Linked DNA regions of Homo sapiens: region 1 is linked to region 2. The links are contacts of gene promoters, found by promoter capture Hi-C in blood cells and fetal thymus (Javierre and others, 2016). All regions are on one chromosome and are shown on one strand. Each heading gives the region's core, a stretch centred on a gene start or on the middle of the fragment in contact. The rest is flanking DNA. Distances are from core to core; before and after follow the strand shown.

What was found. Contacts are between HindIII fragments. The CHiCAGO score rates a contact against its expected background, and 5 or more counts as called.
Region 1: a contact is called between the fragment with the promoter of NFXL1 here and the fragment with the promoter of FRYL in region 2, in 4 of 17 cell types (monocytes, fetal thymus, naive CD4 T cells and 1 more). The highest score is 11.0, in monocytes.

The regions. Positions count from the first base shown.
Region 1 is chr4:47,911,697-47,916,086 of GRCh38, reverse strand. NFXL1 (nuclear transcription factor, X-box binding like 1) reads left to right here and starts at 1,504. Exons shown (of 23, transcript NM_001278624.2): 1 at 1,504-1,722; 2 at 1,882-2,118. The coding sequence starts at 1,884. It overlaps LOC101927157 (a long non-coding RNA gene), which reads right to left and starts at 1,860. Exons shown (of 3, transcript NR_125879.1): 1 at 1,383-1,860. RefSeq lists enhancers at 1,524-1,753, 1,264-1,949, 1,950-2,636. The HindIII fragment of the contact is 5,032 bases long and covers 1-1,892 here.
Region 2 is chr4:48,778,945-48,783,508 of GRCh38, reverse strand. It overlaps FRYL (FRY like transcription coactivator), which reads left to right and starts at 3,230. Exons shown (of 64, transcript NM_015030.2): 1 at 3,230-3,431. RefSeq lists silencers at 3,185-3,294, 3,385-4,264. The HindIII fragment of the contact is 8,638 bases long and covers 2,220-4,564 here.

The sequences.
Region 1 (4,390 bases), core at 255-2,754, 870 kb after region 2:
CCTCAGTGTTCTCAGTTGTAAAACGGGGATAATAAACACGGTTACTGTGAGTACCAAATTAGTTAATACATAACGTAAAACACTTTAAACAGTGCCTGACATCTAATAAATGCTATCTAAATATTATAATAGAAATTTATGGTTAAAATAGAAGAATTAACTAAGTTGAAGGACTGTACAATAAGCCATCAATATGTTTCTCAATCCCAGACAGACCCCAGAATGAATTTTTGCAATCTACCTGTCAGTATATATGCACATGTATCTTATTGGAAAACTCAGCAAAATCATAAGATTTAGGTCCTGGCCCTCAACTATTTTCCTTAACAAAATCTACTTTAGGGAGATGCTGTGAAGGTAAAAATTAGCATGTCCCAGGGAAAGCTCATTGCACACTACAAAGGACTATGACAATAACAGGCTTTAGATTTATTTTCTACATTGGCTCTAGCATTTTAGAAGGGTACTTTTACTACTCAAGCCACTTTCCTGCAACTCTCCCCCGAATTTCCCTCCTTCACAGTGGCCAACCTCAAAGCGTTTTCAATGTAAGTGCCTTTCCTGTTAGTGAGACTTCCCTATGAAAATAAATAGTTTAAAGGTTGTTGGAGCCTAAAACTCACTAAGCCTGGAGAGAGATGTGACTGTCATCTGAGTTACACGTGGTTACAACTTCTGTTTCTCAGATTATAGATTAACTTGCTTTCTTATTTTTCTTGTTCTATACAATGGCTAGAGAGAATTAAACGAAGTTAAGGACAAAAACTTCCTGCCTTCTTAATGATCCTTATAGATTAACTTCTGCTTTGTTGCCCCGGTTTGCTTAGACCAGATGACAGAAAATCCTTTATGAAAAATGTTAAATGTACACTTCCCAAAAAGAAACACTGTCTATAATCAAATTGTTGTAACTATTCTCTAACCTTGTATGAGAAAATGCTGTAATCCTGCTAAAAAACCTCTCAGTTTCTGCCTATATAAGTGAAATCTTAAATCTCTACTTCGGAACGCTGACTCCTTCCTTGGAGTCGGTGTTTCTAGGTAGGCTATCCTCAAACTTCGCGCTTTTGATTATTTTACATTGACACCTCCTGTCATCCGCAAGCTCAAAGGCAAGGCTAATAAAAGATGGCAGAGAGCCAATTAGGGACAGAGCCATGTAATCCTCATACCCAGGTGAGTTTAGGGCAGTCTTGCAGAAGCAGAAGCAAATTGTGGGGTCACGAAACCCTCCGGACCCGCCCGCCTCCACCACCACGCGCCCCTATGACCTTCGACCCCTCCCTAGCCCCAGAGCACGCCGGGAGTTGTAGTTCCCAAAGGCCTGTTCGGGCCAGCGCAGGCGCTTGGGGTTTCCCTCCCACCCAACCCCCGCACTTTACCGGATAAGGAAGCGGCCCGTGCTGCCACGCAGTCGCCGGAACGCGGGCGGGGGCTTCTGGGAGTTGTAGTCTGTTGGGGGCGTGCGCAGTCGGTAAGGAGACGTAGCTTTCCGTGGGGTGTACCACTGCAGTTGGTTCCCGGCGGGAGACGCAGGGTCAGTCTGTGACTCTTCCCCTACCACGCTCCCGCAGAGGCTGAGGAGGCGGTTTCGACTTCTCCTCCGGCTTTCTGTCTTCGGCACTGTGTGCTTCTTGCTCCGCGGTTTATTTCTGTACCTAGTCCTCCCTCCCCTCTTCGGTCCATCTCCAAAGCCCGGGCTTGGCGGGGACTCGCCCTCCGGTAAAGGCAGGGCCGCGACCTCCTAAAACCCGGTCGCCGCCCTGCAGGAACCTTCCTCACTCGGCCCCTCACACCGGGTTTCCGCACTGACCCTCCTTCGCCTCGGTCCTCGCTGCGCTCACCTCCTTCCACTCTTTTTTTTTTTTTTCTCCTTTGCAGGGATGGAAGCTTCCTGGCGCCAGGTGGCCGGTGGCCGAGGCCGATCCCGGGGACGGGCCACTGCCGCCCCCTCAGGAAATGGAGTCCATCTCCGCGGCGCCGGAGGAGGGCGAGAGAAGGGGTCGGTGGGCGCAGTTCCTTCTGGCACCAGTCCCGGAGGAGTCGCGACCACGGCGGCTGCAGGGAGCAGGCACAGCCCCGCAGGATCCCAAGCCCTGCAGACTACCGCAGCCAGCGGTGAGAATGGCTCCCGCCCGCGTGCTCACCTGGATGCCTCCTAAGGCAGTTACTAGTCAGGACCGCCTCCGCCCTCGCCTTCTTTCTTTCACTGCTTTTCCCCTCGTTCGGGAGTTTGTTATCGGGCCCACTTCTCCAGCCTTTCGGGTGGCTGCTCTTTTCGGCACTCTAGGTAGATTTCCATCGCACCTCTTTCATCTTAATTTTAGGTGGTATTACCTTTGTTACTTCCCTCCACTCTTGCCTACTTGAATCTCCAGACCATCAGTTGTAAATTGTGGCCCGGTGTTCTGATTTGGTCTATAATGTTGTTTGGTTAACACAGAGTTTTAAATGTGGATTGATTGTCAGCGGTTGTTTGTCGTTTTTAAAAATCTGGTTAACAACCTTGTGGCTTTAGTTATCTTTGTGCATGGCAACAGTCAGCTCGGCTGAGTCACAGAAATCCCATTTAGATTGGACTTGGGCATTCCATCTCACATTCTCTCTCATTTCTGGAGCCAGGTGTCATTTGTCATCTTTACCTTTGCCTTTGTTTCTTGACTTGTCTTATTCCTTGTAAGCACTTGAGCTTTTGATACCTTCCTTGACTGTAGTTCCTATTTACAAATTCCATGTCCTTCTGTGGACATATCTGGTGTTGCCTCCGATATATCAATACTTTTCATCCAAGACCATGTTTTCGTGGAGCCAGGGAGGACTTACACACAATTGTGCATGGGGCCGAGGGAATAATCCCTGAAATCATTTTATTTTTGTGTTTGGAATGCATTTCAGGATACATTTTTTTGGGGGGTGTGGAGCAGAATTGAGTATCTTGAATGATTTTTCTCCTAGGCTAATTTGAAAGGTAGGTGGTATTCTCTTAGCATGCAGTTAATGGCCGTGATGATAAGGTATACAATATGGAGACGTGTGAACAGGTTTGGTAAACTTTTTTTTTTTTTTTTTTTTTTTGAGACAGAGTCTCGCTGGTCGCCCAGGCTGGAGTGCAGTGGCGCAATCTCGGCTCACTGCAAGCTCTGCCTCCTGGGTTCAGGCCGTTCTCCGGCCTCAGCCTCCCGAGTAGCTGGGACTACAGGCGCCTGCCACCACGCCTGGCTAATGTTTTGTTTTTTGTTCTTTGGTTTTTTTTTTTTAGTAGAGACGGGGTTTCACCGTGTTAGCCAGGATGGTCTCCATCTCGTGGGTAGAAGGAAAACAAGCATTCTGTCCGGGCGCGGTGGCTCAAGCCTGTAATCCCAGCACTTTGGGAGGCCGAGGCGGGCAGATCATGAGGTCAGGAGATGGAGACCATCCTGGCTAACAGGGTGAAACCCCGTCTCTACTAAAAATACAAAAAATTAGCCGGGCGGGGTGGCAGGCGCCTGTAGTCCCAGCTACTCGGGAGGCTGAGGAAGGAGAATGGCGTGAGCCCGGGAGGCGGAGCTTGCAGTAGCCGAGATTGCCCCACTGCACTCCAGCCTGGGCGACAGAGCAAGACTCCGTCTCAAAAAAAAAAAAAAAAGAAAGAAAAGAAAAAGAAAACAAGCATTCTCTACCTGGACAGTTGAGATTTGGCTGTAAGAAATAATACGTGAGAAGGTTGTCTTGTCAGCTTCTCTTTACTTTGAGATGATGTTAGGTGAATACATTTATCAGGTTATGAATGTTCTCATTATCTCTGTCCAGTTCAGCCTGTTTTCTTATGTATCTTTTAAGTGCTAATTTCCCGTATATTAATGACATTTATCATCTCTTTTGTGACAAGTTTTGAGTTATATATCTCATAGCCAGTTCTTTTTTCCCAGTACTCAAAGCTTGCTAGGTAAGCATGATACACATTTTCGTCGAGGTTTACTTGAAATACTCAATTTGTTTTGTTAATAACCCCTAACCAAACTGGCTGCAATAAGAAAAGGAAAATGTTTCATGAGGGAACATAATCAAGTACGAATATACCACCCAAGATAAGAGAGCTTATCTTGGTAGTGGCTTATCAGTTTTAAGTATAATGTTAATTTTAAAATAGTCAATCAGTAAATTTAAAATCCTCTCAAGATGGGAATTCATGAACTCAGATCAGTTCTGCAGGTTTGTGGCTCCTTTCTTAAACTATGTTTGCTGTCCGTAAGAGCTTATTAACACTTAGTGCTTGAAGAAAATCCCTGTGGTCCTTGCTCTCAAGAAGTTTGAAGTTTCTTTGGGAGTATGTGCAGTGAAGTAATCTGGTTTTGTTTTGCATGATTAATCAAGTAACAAAATGAGAAGTACAGGTAGTGCTGAATAGTGG
Region 2 (4,564 bases), core at 1,981-4,480:
TGGCCCCCATTTTCTCACTATTCTTAACACATAATAGTCGCTATATAAGTGTGTGGTGAACTGGAAAGAATTTCCAATAGGAATGGTAACATAATTTTTCAGAGGAAAAATAATTACTGGTTAAACTATGGAACCTCTTTGAGGGGTACATTTGCATATAAACAGGGAGAATAGTGATCATAACATATTTCACTTTTTTTGTATTTTTTATTTTTGACACGGAGTCTTGCTATGTCATCCAGGCTGGAGTGCAGTGGTGCGATCTCAGCTCACTGCAACCTCCGCCTCCCGAGTTCAAGCCATTCTCCTGCCTCAGCCTCCCGAGTAGCTGGAATTACAGGCATGCGCCACCACGCCCGGCTAATTTTTGTATTTTTAGTAAAGACGAGGTTTCACCATGTTGGCCAGGCTGGTCTTGAACTCCTGACCTGAGGTGATCTGCCTGCCTCGGCCTCACAAAGTGCTGAGATTACTGGCACGGTGTGAGCCATGGTGCCTGGAGGTATTTCACCATTTAAAAGACTTTAACAAACATCTATATACAATAATTTAAAAAGCTTTATTTACATTAGCACATTGGAGAAGGGTGTGTGTGTGTGTGTGTGTGTGTGTGTGTGTGTGTGTGACAGAGTGAGACTCTGTCGCCCAGGCTGGAGTACAGTGGTGCAATCTTGGCTCACTGCAACCTTCGCCTTTCGGGTTCAAGTGATTCTCCTGCCTCAGCCTCCCCAGTAGCTGGGATCACAGGCCTGTGACCATTCCCACCAGCTAATTTTTGTATTTTTTGCAGAGATGGGGTTTCGCCATGTTGCCCAGGCTGGTCTTGAACTCCTGGCCTCAAGTCATCCACCTGCCTTGGCCTCCCAAAGTGCTGGGATTACAGGCGTGAGCCACTGCACCCAGCCGAGAAATATTCTTTTTTTAAAGAGTGGGGATTGGGCTTAGAATGAGAAACTAAGGTAGAGAGATAAAGTCTCTCTGAATGAGAAAGTACAACTTGTAAAATTCTCCAGGGTTAGAACTGGGGCTGTGTTCATCAACACTGAACATTCTTAAGAATAACCTCTACGTTGTAAGCTCCAGGTTTGTAGATTTTTAAAATTCTTCTTTGCTGTGAAATGCCAGTAGGAGTATTAGTACCAGGAAGTTGCATGTGTGGGCTAAAAAGTGATAAATGATCCTATTGTGGGCAAATATGAAATATTTAGAGAAAAGAATAACACAAATTATACTTGAAAGGTGATAATCTCAGCATAGTTGGTTCAATGCAAGTAAGAGAATCTAGAGGTTACTGTAGACTGCCTTCTCTAGTTTATATGCCCAGTCTGCTAGTGCAGCAAAAGAGGGCAGTAACAAGCTGGATATCATAGGGCAGGTGTTTTAGAAAGAACCTGAAAACATCACTTAGACCTTGAACAAAAGCTGCAGGTGTGTACATGCCTGAAACACTGGATATCTTTATCTCCAGAAGATCATACTAGATATCAGTACATAGTATCTTCTTCTTCTTATATTCTAATGTAGAATATTAGAACCCAGAAGCAGTCTCAGAGTTTGAGAGTGGTAAGTGAGTAAACCAGAAGTATTAGTTTAGCTTGGCTGCAGTTTTATTATACAGTAAAATCAGAATAGGCTAAGCATAGGGATTTAGTTATAGGGACTTAATAGGGAGGATGTGTGTATCTGTGAAGGCCATATAAATGCAACCCAGATAGTTCATCGTCTCTTGCCCCCACTAGTGATACCTAAACCACCTTCCTGCAACGTTCCCTTTTGTTTCCTGCTCTTTCATATTTTCGGGAATCCTCATGAAATTTTTCACCTGTATTTGGGGAAAAGTCCTATGAACTACCAACTACTGATGTTTACTTACCCTTCTCTGTCATCATCAAGCCCCTTTTCTAGGGTACTGCTGAGCACTGACACTTCCTTGGCACCATTAGATTATACTGGGGTATCACTGCAAATGTACTAAAGCCCCCGGGGTACACAGTCTTCAAGGTTCATCGGCAAAGAGGGAGAGAACACATAACCATTTTCCCCTAACATTCTTAGATGGGTACCGAAGCTGTACCTGTACTCAATTTTAGTGGAAATAAACCTTTTAGTTCTTACAGCTCCAGTGGGAAACTGGGGAAACTCTAAAGCAGACCCCGCACTAGGCTTCCCCATAATTTCTTCTCTTTTCAATGCGTGAGGTTCTGCTCCATGGTCAAGCTTCTGGTATCAGATTCCCTCTTTCCCTTAGACAGACTCGTTTTCTCCTGAGAGGCATCTCAGTTGTTCAAGTGACCTGGGGTGTTTTTCCTACAGTTCTAGCAAGGGGGAACGAAGTCCTACACTTTGAGGATGGCATAAGGGTACCATCTACTTAATTTTTTCAAAAAAGTAACAGGTCTCGTGGAAACGCGGGAACGTCACAGAGGACGTGACTTAAACGGAACTTGTAATGGAAATGATTTTCTAAATGAACAATTGCGAGACAAGCAAGGAAACCTCCAGGTTTGCAGATAACTTGATTAAAGCTCTTCCGGGTGGCAAAATGCCAGTGCAATCAATGGTATGAGTAGGGCGGACAGTGGATGAAACTTGTTGAGTAAATCTCAGGAGGAATTAGCACTGGACTTTCAGGTATTCTAACTCAATTCTAACCATTCCATTCTCTGGATCATTGGATAAGGTTCCGCAGGATCCGGGCGCCAGCTCTGGATACATTACTGATCGGGAGAAAATTTTGAATTTTTCTCTTGTCCCTTTCCAGCTTTCCTCAATATAGGATATGAGTTTGTCCTCGACCCCTAACAACATTTAAAGGTAAAGTCGCTCCTAGAAGGCAAAGCGGAGAGGACTTTGCGGCTGTGTTTCTCAAGCCCGTAAAGAGAGAGTAATAATGGTAGGGAGCGTGCAGACTAGCTCTTTCCTTGCCCAATCAAGTGTACAGGAAGATGTCCTTTCACCAATAAAAATAAAGTTCGCTTTCCGGAGGCGGGAGGGTGAGCCTTGACTGCCAGGGCTCCAAAGCAACGTTAGAGGCGAGGGCAGAGAATGATTAGAGGGAAGACCAACCCGGGAAAAGGGGCGGGGAGAAGGTAGGAGCAACTTTGAGCGGCGGCTGGCCAGGCCAGTGGAGGGCGAGGACTGCTGTTCCTGTTGTAGTGTTTCTCGCCAATCAGGAAGGCCAGGGGGCGGGCGGGGTAGGGAAGGGGTGGGAAGACCTCGCAGCACAGCCGGGCGCCCGTCGGGCTCTGGGAGAGAGCGAGAGAGAAATCCGGTTAAAATCAGAGTCGGAGGGAGGTTTAACCACAGATCGGTTCCGATCGGATTATTCCTTAAAGGGGACGCGCCATTGTCAAGAGAACGGAGCCAGGGGCCCGAGGGCGGGGACCGGCGGCGCTGGAGGAGCGAGGCAGCTGTACTAGGACTGGGAACGGGTAGGTGTTGACTGGGGAAAGGCGCTTCATTTTACTTTCTCTTCCAGCCCCGGGGCAGGCGCCGGGATGCCCGCCGCCGGCAGCCCAGCCTGGGCGGGAGACGAGGTCGTCGGCCCTCGCCAGCTGTCCTTCCTGGTGGGCGCCGAGGGAAGGCGGTCCAGGATGGCTGGCAAGCGGCGCGGCGCGGCCCGGGCCGGCGCTCGTAACGGACACCAAACCGCGGCGCAACCCCAGCCTCAACCGAAAGCCCGCCCGAGCTCCGGCGGTTCCGCCGGCAGCGCCGCGCGCCCGTCTCTCCCGCACGTCCCCTTCCCCTCCAGTGCCTGGCTCTTCTCGCGCGCGCCCGGGTACCCCTCGCGCGCCGCCTTCTCGCGCGTCCTGCTCTGGTCGCGCGCCGCCTCGCCACCGACTCGCGGGAGCCGCCCCGCGGGAAGGAAGGCGGTGGCAGAGGTGGAGGAAGACCGGCGACCACGGCTCCGCCGCCTCGGCTGGGAAGGGAGGGCTGAGGAGCAAACTTAGCGCGGCGGCTGGCGGGCCCCGGCGGGCAGGGCTGGCGGGGACCGGCGGAGCGCGCCAGCCCAGCCGGGCATTGTCCGCCTTTTCCCTTGCTCTGGTCTCTCCGCCCACTGCTCGCGGTCCTGGGGAGGGGTGCGGGCGCTGTGCCCGCGCAGCCCCGGGCCGTTGGCGTACCCCGGGACCCGGAGTCTTCCGGAGCCGGAGCCAGCCCTGCGGACACCGCGGCCACCGCCCGCGAGCTGACTCGGCCTGTAGATTGCCTGCTGCTCTCAGCCTCGGCACCGGGCAGGGTGCCTGGGCGCTGAGCTCTTCTTTGCAACTTTTATTTGCCGTTTGATGGAAGTTGTTGCTTCCGGGCGGCAGGTTCTTTGGGCACAGCCTGGTTTCCTGCGTTCTGGAGAGGCTGGTTTCTAGGGCGAAATGATTTATTGCTGCCGGTCTTTCCTGCCATCCTAGTTTAGTTCCTCGCCACCTAAAATCGCATTTTTGTGGATTTGCAATGATATGGGAGCATTAATCTTTCCTAGGCCAAGATTTGAAAAGAAAAAAAAGGGGGTGGGGGTTAGGGTGTGTGCTGGTGAGGAGCAAGAGTTCTTAGTAGAGCTGAGTTTGCCCTT